4 separate regions of the Homo sapiens genome follow, and all the other regions are linked to region 4. Evidence: promoter capture Hi-C in human tissues and cell types (Jung and others, 2019). All regions are on one chromosome and are shown on one strand. Each heading gives the region's core, a stretch centred on a gene start or on the middle of the fragment in contact. The rest is flanking DNA. Distances are from core to core; before and after follow the strand shown. Region 1 overlaps PHLPP1 (PH domain and leucine rich repeat protein phosphatase 1). Region 2 has its middle 91 kb from the start of ZCCHC2. Region 3 has its middle 32 kb from the start of PHLPP1. Region 4 holds the start of KDSR (3-ketodihydrosphingosine reductase).

What was found. The method cuts DNA at HindIII sites, captures the fragments that hold promoters and counts their contacts. A contact is called where the count stands out against the background at its distance.
Region 1: a fragment that was not itself captured here is called in contact with the fragment with the promoter of KDSR in region 4 in 1 of the 25 tissues and cell types used here (dorsolateral prefrontal cortex).
Region 2: a fragment that was not itself captured here is called in contact with the fragment with the promoter of KDSR in region 4 in 2 of the 25 tissues and cell types used here (heart left ventricle and spleen).
Region 3: a contact is called between a fragment that was not itself captured here and the fragment with the promoter of KDSR in region 4, in 2 of the 25 tissues and cell types used here (lymphoblastoid cells and spleen).

The regions. Positions count from the first base shown.
Region 1 is chr18:62,852,281-62,854,980 of GRCh38, forward strand. The region is part of intron 3 of PHLPP1 (PH domain and leucine rich repeat protein phosphatase 1); the gene reads left to right. Among named protein-coding and RNA genes, the nearest start is that of PHLPP1, 140 kb to the left of the region's middle. The HindIII fragment of the contact is 4,110 bases long and covers 1-2,700 here.
Region 2 is chr18:62,612,206-62,614,905 of GRCh38, forward strand. No RefSeq gene overlaps it. Among named protein-coding and RNA genes, the nearest start is that of ZCCHC2, 91 kb to the left of the region's middle. RefSeq lists an enhancer at 1-81. The HindIII fragment of the contact is 3,993 bases long and covers 1-2,700 here.
Region 3 is chr18:62,682,468-62,685,453 of GRCh38, forward strand. No RefSeq gene overlaps it. Among named protein-coding and RNA genes, the nearest start is that of PHLPP1, 32 kb to the right of the region's middle. The HindIII fragment of the contact is 4,652 bases long and covers 1-2,986 here.
Region 4 is chr18:63,365,898-63,368,597 of GRCh38, forward strand. KDSR (3-ketodihydrosphingosine reductase) reads right to left here and starts at 1,309. Exons shown (of 10, transcript NM_002035.4): 1 at 1,114-1,309. The coding sequence starts at 1,221. It overlaps KDSR-DT (KDSR divergent transcript), which reads left to right and starts at 1,427. Exons shown (of 2, transcript NR_186602.1): 1 at 1,427-1,962. It overlaps LOC124904317 (a long non-coding RNA gene), which reads right to left and starts at 1,103. Exons shown (of 2, transcript XR_007066400.1): 1 at 353-1,103. RefSeq lists enhancers at 399-693, 733-1,680 and silencers at 542-591, 942-1,001, 1,072-1,521, 1,632-1,681. The HindIII fragment of the contact is 17,335 bases long and covers 1-2,700 here.

The DNA of each region.
Region 1 (2,700 bases), core at 28-2,527, 510 kb before region 4:
ACTGGTAGCTTTGATATGCTTTTATTGGAACATTATGAAGATATATGATGTAATTAATTTTTATTTATTTATTTATTTTTTGAGATGGAGTCTCACTGTGTCACCCTGGCTGGAGTGCAGTGGCCCAATCTCGGCTCACTGCGAGCTCCGCCTCCTGGGTTCATGCCATTCTCCTGCCTCAGCCTCCCGAGTAGCTGGGACTACAGGCGCCTGCCGCCACGCCCGGCTAATTTTTTGTATTTTTAGTAGAGACGGGGTTTCACTGTGTTAGCCAGGATGGTCTCGATCTCCTGACATCATGATCCGCCCGCCTCGGCCTTCCAAAGTGCTGGGATTACAGGCGTGAGCCACCATGCCCGGCAGGTTGACAGCAGTGTTTCACTTCACACAAGCAGAATTATTTGTGGTATTTCAGCTGCTTTGACCAAGCCTTTTAGAGTCATTCTGGTTAATTTTGAGCATGCCATGCACATAAGAAGGATAAATACAACTTTACTAAAGTATAGAGGGGGCAAAATCATCACATTAATGTTACTGTGAACTTTCCCTTGCCTGTGAAAGACGATTATCCACTAACTGAACCAAGAAGAGTAATGGGAATGATGCAGAGTACTGTCCTCTTGCAAGGGAAGATGAGAATTTTGAAAGCGTGGCAGGGATAGGGTAAGGATAGGACAGATAGATTGGTTTACAAATGCAACCCAGCTACACTCAGAGGAGGGACGTTTTTGTCATAAGGGTCCTAATAATAGGCAAAGAAATGACTTAGGAAAGTGTCAAGCTGAGTTATATGTTAGAAATGTGTGGCCACCCATTGAGTCATCTGAAAATTTTGTTGTTCACATTAGCATTTTTTATAGTGCAGTGTTCTTTAGAGGAAATATTTTGAGGACCAAATGAACCCTCCTTCCCTTATGTATATTTACAAGTCATTTGGGAAAAAAAGAGACCACCTGAGCAGGTAGTTGGAAATTATGTTCATTTTGATGTATCTCTCAGGGTGTGTCCATCGTGGTAGAAAAGTCCCATTTAATTTACTAACTCAATTAGCCTTAATTTTTTTTCTTTTTTCTTTTTTTTTTTTGTTCTTGTTTCGTTTTGTTTTTGAGATGGAGTCTTGCTGTTGTTGCCCAGGCTGGAGTGCAGTGGCGCAATCTTGGCTCCCTGCAACCTCTGCCTCTCGGGTTCAAGCGATTCTCCTACCTCAGCCTCCTGAGTAGCTGGGATTACAGGTGCCCGCCACCCCACCCAGCTAATTTTTGTATTTTCAGTAGAGATGGAGTTTCCCCATGTTGGCCAGGCTGGTCTCGAACTCCTGACCTCAGGTGATCTGCCCCCCTCGGCCCCACAAAGTGCTGGGATTACAGGCGTGAGCCTCTGCCCCCAGCCTGTTATTGTTAATACAGACTAAAACTGACTTTCTATGGCACAGTTACCTTCAACTGATCACAACTTGAATCTCTTCGTCTATAGTTCATTGATGGTCTGGCTAATTGCAGTTTATCCTTATAACTGCTCAACGACGAGAGCATTGGCTTACATCGTAGTCTTTTTTGTTTTATAGACTTTTATTGCTTGGAGTGGTAGACATTGCTGTGGAGATACTTGGTCTACAGAGCCTCTCCTGATTTTTTAAAATGAATAAAATGGTATTACTGCAGCAACTTGTTAAGGTGATCAGGGCAGGTCTATTAGTCTATAAGACAGGACTTAGTCTATTTTAGAGATACGGAAACTTGAAGGACAGGTAAGCGAAGTGACTTATTCAAAGTCACGTTGCTAGTAAGTAGAACTGTTCCTACCTACCCCACATACTGTTAAGCTGGTGCCCTTTCTCCTGTATGTCAAGTTGTGTGGACCTCACCTTTGTGCCTTCAACTATCTTGTCTGTGGTTATAAGTACAGTAGCTTTTGCCAAAAGGAATTTATATTCTGAGATCCTTTAGAAGCTTTCTGTAACAGAGATTTGAGGCACTTTCTATATATGCCTGTTTCACTTCCCAAATATCTATAACCTCTTATACTTTTCCTGTAACCTTTAAAATTTTGATTAGGTGCTCACTGGATGGCATCACTGTTGCCCAGCTGGATAAGTTGTGTGGGATTGGAGTGGGCAGAGCCTATGATGTCAAGGAATAATGCCCCATGGGGATTCACCCCTCCTCGGAAATCTGTATTTGGTCAGCAGATGGTCTCTACTGCTTCTCCCGAGGAGGACTCACTGTCTCTGACCACCTTGTCTTCATTTCTAAGGCTTAAACATATCCTGAGGAGTACATCTAATTTTCTTTGCTGTAGTTATGTTATTTTATGATGGAGATTAGAGGAGCCTCCCTTCTGATGAGATCCAGGTCTTGACCTGATGGCATAGAGTTAATAGTACTGGCTCTTGTTCAAACTCTGATCCTGCTACTTTTTTTTTTTTTTTTTTTTGAGATGAAGTTTCGCTCTTGTCACCCAGGGTGGAGTGTGATGGCTCAATCTTGGTTCACTGCAATCTCCGCCTCCCAGGTTCAAGTGATTCTCCTGCCTCAGCCTCCTGAGTAACTGGAATTACAGGCACCCACCACCACGCCTGGTTAATTTTTGTATTTTTAGTAGAGAAGGGGTTTCACCATGTTGGCCAGGCTGGTCTCAAACTCCTGACCTCAAATGATCCACCCACCTCGGCCTCCCATAGTGTTGGGATTACAGGCATGA
Region 2 (2,700 bases), core at 112-2,611, 750 kb before region 4:
GCAAGGCAAGTGGGATGTATTTCCATCCATGTCACACAGAGCTGACAGAAGCTAGGCGATTCCAGGGGGAAATGTCCTTACTTCCTTCCGAATGGCCTGGCTGCAGCTTAAGTGCACAGAGGAGTGGTTCCTAGACCCACTCTCAATCCTGGGTCTGGGTCTGGCTGGGTCTGGCTGCTTCTGCAGGCTTCTTGCTGTCAGGTCTCTCTGGTGTCAGAAATCTCCTGCCCTGCTGCCACCTTATGGAGTTAGGATGCCAGACAGACTGGCAGGGAAGCAGCCCCATGGGGGGTTGAACCCTGCCTCTCTACTCTGTTCTCTGCATGGTATCAGGGTGGCCCCGAGGGAGTGCAGAAGTGCCAGCCTTCCGCGGAGGGGAAGCCCTTTTTTGCCTGATCTTCTACATAAGCTTCTCCTAAGTGCTAGAGTCAGGCATAACCCCAAGGAAAGTTTCAAGGAGACGAGTGGTTCCAGCATGCAATGCTGCAGAGAGCTCAAGGAAAGCATTTAGTGGATGTCATAACTAGGAGGTCGTCAAGACGGGGAAGCTGCAGAGAACACCTGGGCACTGCTCCTTTGGGGATCTTAGCTGAGAGGCCTTCCTGTTGGCAAGAGAGGGGGTAGGAAGGACCTACTCTCCTGCCTACTCCAGTGGGCAGGCTTTCACATGAGAAGGAAAGAGGAAATGTAATTATTTCTGAGACTGAAGAGATCAGGTGGCATGGTATTAATGATTAGGGAACAAGACTGTCATACACATCACGACAGTTCGTCAGTTCCAACTTCCCTCATGTGAATGACAGCTGACATTCACACTTGCAGGACCAGGAGCCAATAATAACTACAAAGTGGCAAGTGGCTCTGTCCCTTCTGCCGCCACTAAAGAAAGCATCTCAAAATGCAAGCGTGTGGTAGTGACTTCATTGTAGAGACACTTGAATCACCTCTAGTTTATTAATATATTATAATAAACCAAAGAATGGTCCTTTCACTCTTAGTCACAAAGTACTTGCACCATGCCTCTCAATAACATAAACCAACAAAAAACTCAGTGAGATTCAAGACTCATAGTTCAACTAACACCCCTGCCATACTCACTCTTCCTTCTTAAAAAAATATCAATGCCAACAACTTACAGAAAAATCTCATCAATACTAAACAGCTGTTCCTTTCCTAAAAAGTCTCTTTGGATATAAATTGGTATCTCCATCAGCTTACAAGGTTGTAATCAGTATGTACATATAATTTCATGTTCTACTTTTCTTCACTAAATATTTCATCTACACATTCTCATTTACTGGTGTACTCTCACGATGTCTAGGGGCTAAAAAGATTTTATTAATTAATGTTTTCCCATTGTGGAGTATTGGTTGTTTCCCATTGTTCATTTTACAGTGCTGCAATTGATTTTTTTATAGAAAAGAAAATCAATGTTTTGTGTTTTCATTTTGAGGTACGTTTTCCCAAGTGAAACTATTGGATCAAAGGGTCTAAAGTGTTTGATGCCCTCTCACATAGTGTCAGATTCCTTTTCTATAAGAATACGCAAGCCGGGCATGGTGGCTCATGCCTATAATCCCAGCACTTTGGGAGGCCGAGACAGGTGGATCACCTAAGATCAGGAGTTCAAGACCAGCCTGGCCAACATGATGAAACTCTGTCTGTACTAAAAATACAAAATTAGCCAGGCGTGGTGGCACATGCCTGTAATCCCAGCTACGCAGGAGGCTGAGGCATGAGAATTGCTTGAACCCAAGGGTTGGAAGTTTCAGTGAACCAAGAGCGCACCACTGCACTCCAGCCTGGGTGACAGAGTGAGACTCTGTCTCAAAAAAAAAAAAAATAAATAAAGAATACATCTATTGTTAGTACCACTAGCAATATATGAATATCCAGTCCCCTTCATGTCAAATGGATTTTTTTTTCTTTTTTTTCTTTTTTTTTTTTTTTGAGATGGAGTCTTGCTCTGTCACCCAGGCTGGAGTGCAGTGGTGCAATCTCGGCTCACTGCAAGCTCTGCCTCCCGGGTTCACGCCATTCTCCTGCCTCAGCCTCCCAAGTAGCTGGGACTACAGGTGTCCACCACCACGCCCGGCTAATTTTTTGTATTTTTAATAGAGATGGGGTTTCACCATGTTAGCCAGGATGGTCTCAATCTCCTGACCTCGTGATCCACCCGCCGGATTTTTTTCTTTCTTTTGTTTTTCTTCTCCTTTTTTTTTTTTGGTTTCATAGATATGCAATATTTCTCAAAAGAATTGTTTTAAATCTGTATTTCTGAAGTTGAATTTAGGGGAGAGCCTGTGCCCCTGATGCCACCCTAAAGTGTCAGAGCCTCTTCACCCCGACAGTCTCCTTGCACACACATGTGTATGAACCGAAAGAGGGAAGTTTCTTCAAGACCCAGGCCCAGACAGCCAGCTCACACACGCATGTGACTGGTTTAAAGGGAAGTGCATAGCTGCTCTGGAGCATGGCACGGCAACCATTAGTTTAGTACCTGGCAAAGGGTAGACGATCCAGAAGTAGGCGCTGAGCTAGCTGCTTCGTGGAGCCTGAAGGAGAGTGTGATGCTGTGAGCGCTTCCTCCCCGAAGCTGCATAGCAACTACACATGCCTCCTGAACAGCTTTTCTTACCCCATCTTCTGTTCTAAGTATGGCAACTACATGTCCTAAATCTGCTAACATTTCAAACAGGT
Region 3 (2,986 bases), core at 400-2,899, 680 kb before region 4:
TGTAATTGCTCAGCCCTCACAAAGAGAAAACTCACAAGCATCGCATTGAGGAAACTGTCATGCCAGGTCCAGATCCTCATCTCATGTGCTCAGTCAGCCAAGCAGACAGTCTCAAGGCTTTCGAGACTTTGCACGCAGCTGCTGTATGTATTAATGGAGATTTTTTGGTTGGCTTGAGAGTGGGGTAGGGGAAGGTGATTATTATTTCCTCAAAAATATATGTCTTCAATTTAGTGATTGCAAAGTGACATTGTTATTCAAATCAGTTGTAGGCAAAGGAAAGGAAGTAGAGAAAAGCATTCATTAATGATAAGGTTTCCTGCTGTTCTCAAGCAAGGCTCTCTCCAGAGCAGGCTGCGTAAAAATTGATCCAGCCTTACTGTGCCCTGGTGCATTTACTAGGGCATTATTAATTTGCTAAACGATGAGCCATCACACAATTTTTATATGTAGCCCCCTAAAAGCAGGGATGCTATAACTTCCAATTCTAACTATGCTTTCAACTTCATATCAGGGAACATGAAAAAAATGGGAGATAGTTGATGAGGACATCTAATTAAGGTATGTCCTCAAAACTCCTTTTGAAGCAGCTTTCAACCTCTTTGAATTCATGCTAAAATTAAATGTTCCTCTGAATAAACGGATGTATCTGAATACATAAATGTGCATGTGTGCGAATTGAATCATCTACTTTTCCATAAAATAAAACATATTGGTGGCTCACATTACCTGCTGAAATAACCTGGCAACATTGTTTTAAAGTAAATTCCTCCCCAGGCTTTTTTTCTAATACTTTCTGCTCTGATTATATTTTATTACTGGTTTCTAGCCTTTATGCCAACAATGTAGAACTCTCAGCAGCATCCAACATAGAGAAACGGGGAGGCGGGAGGGGGACAGTTTCATCAAAGGAAACATTAGATCCACATCTATGATTTTCTTGTTCTCTGACTTCCAATCTTACTTTTAATTTATTTTATTTTTATTTTTTTGAGATGGAGTCTCATTCTGTCACTCAGGCTGTAGTACGTGGTGCAATCTTTGCTCACTGCAACCTCCACCTCCCAGGCGCAAGCATTTCTCCTGCCGCAGCCTCCCAAGTAGCTAGGATTACAGGCGCCAGCCACCATGCCTGGCTAATTTTTTGTATTTTTATTATAGAAGGGGTTTCACCATGTTGGCCAGGCTGGTCTCGAACTCCTGACCTCAAGTGATCTGCCTGCCTCGGCCTCCTAATTTGCTGGGATTACAGGCGTGAGCCACTGTGCCCAGCCCATTTTTTACTCTAATATAACTCTTTTTCTTCAGCTGAGTTCAGAGTAATACCACCAAGGAAGAAAATGAGAGTTCAATCTGAATCATATTTATAACAGAAAATTATAATGTTTAATATAATAATGTATAATAATAAATTATAAATGGTTTTAGATAATAATAGTGAAGAATTTCGTGCTTGGAATATATCAGTATATCAGTTGAGAAAATTCTTCTAAGCCCCAAGGTAATATAATTCAAAGCTGCCATAGCTCTTATAAACCAAAAATAAAATTCTAAGTCCCCCAACCGGCTGAATGAACTGCGTTTCATGGAATCCACCAAAGGGATTCCAAGAAACCTGAAAAACTAGTTAAGGCCGTAATGGGAAGGCAGGGGTCAGACATGCCTCATTATACCCTCTCCCTTCTGGAGTTCAGACTCAACCGACCAACATTGACATTAGCATACACATCCCAGACTGACAGAACAGACTCTCTGTAGCAGTAAGATACTGATAACATCATATGACAGGTAACAGGCCCTAAAGGAAATCAAAGTATTTTACCCTAACATATATTTATTTGACATATTTTTTAATGGCCCTTCAAAGCCATCTCTTGTGGGGAAAATTTACATTCTGCAGACAGCCTCCTTCTCTTTCCAGGTCTTTTCCTGTTCCACAAGAGATTTCACTAAGAGCCTGATAACTTTTTTTTTTTTTTTTTTTTTTTTTTAGATGGAGTTTCGCTCTTGTCACCCAGGCTGGAGTGCAGTGGCACTACCTAGGCTCACTGCAACCTCTGCCTCCCGGGTTCAAGTGATTCTCCTGACTCAGCCTCTTGAGTAGCTGGAATTACAGGCGTGTGCCACCATGCCCAGCTAATTTTTGTATTTTTAGTAGAGACAGGGTTTCACCATGTTGGCCAGGCTGGTCTTAAACTCCTGACCTGATGTGATCTACCAGCCTTGGCCTCCCAAAGCGCTGGGTTTACAGGTATGAGCCACTGCACCCAGCCCCTGATAGCTTTTTTTTTTTTTTTTTGAGACGGAGTCTCGCTCTGTCACCCAGGCCGGACTGCGGACTGCAGTGGCGCAATCTCGGCTCACTGCAAGCTCCGCTTCCCGGGTTCACGCCATTCTCCTGCCTCAGCCTCCTGAGTAGCTGGGACTACAGGCGCCCGCCACCGCGCCCGGCTAATTTTTTGTATTTTTAGTAGAGACGGGGTTTCACCTTGTTAGCCAGGATGGTCTCGATCTCCTGACCTCATGATCCACCCGCCTCGGCCTCCCAAAGTGCTGGGATTACAGGCGTGAGCCACCGCGCCCGGCCCCCTGATAGCTTTTAAGCTCTGATAAGAGACATTGACCAGCTACTCTCTCTGAAACCTATGTAATAGATTCTTGGCTTCCACAACTCCCGTTATCTTAGCCCCAAGCATTTCTTTCTGCTGACTTCAACTCTTTAGGCAAAGCTTAACTCTTTCAATCAATTGCCAATCAGGAAATCTTTGAATCCACCTATGTCTTGGAAGCCACCTCTCCCTGCCCTTCAATATGTCCCCTTTCCAGGGCAAACCAATTTAGAACTTACACGTACAGATTACGTCTCTGCCTGTAACTTCTGTTTCCTCAAAAAGTATAAAATGAAGCAGTGCAACCCAATCACCCTGGGCACATGTTCTCAGGACTGCCCGATGCTGTGTCACAAGTCATGGTCTTCACATTTGCT
Region 4 (2,700 bases), core at 59-2,558:
AAACAGATACATTTTCTCATTCACAAACCCTTGTACAGATTTAAAGCATACTAAGAAAAACGACCATCTTATTTTATACCAGCTCAGCGGGGAGGCTCGGATCTCCGGTGCAGAGATAGGACAGGAAGAGGTGTGCGGCCAATTTTGTAACCAACCCTCCTTACTCCTAACTCCTCGCCTCACTGTGCCTCGGGTTTGGGAGATCCAAACGAGAATGCTCGTGAGAAAGCCACTGCAAACGGGAAAGTGCTGGGCGCAGGCAAGGAGGCATTCTCTCTGTTTAAGAAAGGTGCCACATTTGCAGAACAGGGATCGCTGAATATGCGAGCTTCCGCCAAGAAATAAATCACACCTATCCACCTCTCCTTCATTCCTCGCACACAAGCCTTGTCGTTTAGCTCATCCTTCCCACTAGAAAACAGCAAAGGATTGCATTGGAGCAGCAATCAGCAGATGCCACGCTGAGCTCAGAGACAAGCAGTGTAGACGGGACAGGCGTCCCAATACCGCTAAGCCACCACCGCCAGCCCGCTGGGTTCTGAGCAGTTTCCCCAGGTGAGTCACTTCCTGGAATCCTCTGGCAGCGGCTCTTCCCGTCACTCGCACAGGCCATCTTCCAGTTCCGAGCTGCCTCGGCGGGTCCCGGCGGCTGGGACCCCACTTCCCCGCTGTCTGCCCCCGCCCGGGGCCGCGCGCCGCACCCTGCACACCACCGACCGCTGTGTCCTTGGCAAAGTTTCTCAGCCTCTCTGTGCCTCAGTTGACTCATCGGAAAAACTGAGGACAAAACATCCACATCCCAGGGATGTTGCATGGATTCACGAGCAGCCACAGAACCCCTGGGGCCCCGGGAACCCTGCGGCCGGCGGGGTCCCCCGTCGCACGCTCTCCGGCCCTAGGAGGAGCCCGAGGCTGCGGAGGGCGGGTCCGCGAGGCCGGGTGCCGGGGCCGGGGGAAAAGCGCCGGGGTGGACGGCGGCAGGTGACCTTCCCCATTTGGCCATGCCTTCCTGGGGACCGCGGCCTGGAAAAAGGGACGTAGGCTACGCGGCCTCGGCGGCGGAAAGGCCGCGCGGGCCGGTAAGTCGGGGGGCAGCAACAGGAGGCCACTCACCACCACATGCGCCCCGGGCAGGGCGAGGGGCTTGGGGCTGATGAGCGGAGACACCATGTACAGCAGCAGCACGAAGGCCACGAGGAAGGCGGCAGCCAGCAGCAGCATCGCTCCGCGGGGCCAGGGGCCCGGAGCGGCCGGGCGGGGGCCGCCGGGCAAGGCGCGCAGGGCTGGGCTGCGGCGAGGCGAGAATCACGCGCGGCGGGCGGGCGCCTGGAGTGTTTGGGTTTGCGGGCCGGGGCGGGCCGCGGCGGAGGGGAAGAGGAGGAGCCGGCGCGCGCGCCACCCAGGCGGGGCGGTGCTTCCAGGGGGCGAGTAGGCCGCCACCGCCACCGCCACCGCCACCACTGCCAGAATCGCCTCTCGGGGGTCGCCGGGTGTCTCCCACTCCCCCGGCCTCGGGACGGGGCCCGCAGTCCGCAGCCTCTCCCGTGGAAACCGGGCCTCCCGTCCCTGTGCGTCGCGAGCGGGCTCCGGACAGCGCCAGATGCGAGCGCGCCGGGAAGGGCTGCGAAGACTCGCTCTTCGGGAGCTCGAATGGCTTCTTAGGACCCCGCAGGGCGGGTTTCCAGGCCTGCCACGGCCTCCAGTGTGGGCGTGACGAGCGCTCCTCCCTGGAGTTCAGCCCTCGGCTTGGGACTGCCCGCTGGGTTGCTCGGAGGCCCCGGAGCATCGGAAAGGGCGGCTGGAGGCTCCCGGAGCGGGCTCAGCCTGGGAGCCCAGCGACTACGCTCTGAAATCCCGGGCTCCATTCCATATTTTTTGGCGTTTTTAGAAGATGGTCACGGCCCACTTTCGCTTTTCAGAGGACCGGAAAGCCTTAACAGGGAGTTTTGAGGAATCACTAAGGTAATTCAATTTCATTGAGTTCAGAGTTCATCTTTACCAAGCAGGTTCAAAACAAATAAATAACGCAAACAACTCAGCTTTATTAAGGTCTCATTCACGTACTATACCATACAATTCCCGATTTAACGTGCGTAATAGGCCGGGCGAGGTAGCTCGCGCCTGTAATCCCCGACCTTTGGGAGGCTGAGGCGGGCGGATCTCTTCAGGTCTGGAGTTCGAGACCAGCCTGGCCATGATGGTGAAACCCCCGTCTCTACTAAAAATACAAAAAATCACCCGGGCATGGTGGCGTATGCTTGTAATCCCAGCTACCCTGGAGGCTGAGGCAGGAGAATCGCTTGAACCCGGGAGGCAGAGATTGCGGTGAGATCGCGCCACTGCACTCCAGCCTGGGTGACAGATCAAGACTCCGTCTCAAAAATAAATAAATAAATAAAGCTTATAATAAATTGTCTTTAATATAGTCACAGTTGTAGACCCATCACTACCATAAATTTTAGAACATTTTTGTCACAACCCCCCAAAATCCTATACTCATTGGCAGTCACGACCCATTTCCTCCCAAGCCCCGCCCAAGCCTAAGCAATCCCTCATGTTTCTGTCTCTATAATCTTGCCTATTCGGGATATTTCACATAAATGGAATCATATAATATGTAGCCTTTTTCATCCTATCTTTCACTTACTGTAATGTTTTCAAGGTTCATCCATGATATGAAGTACTACATGTTAATACTTC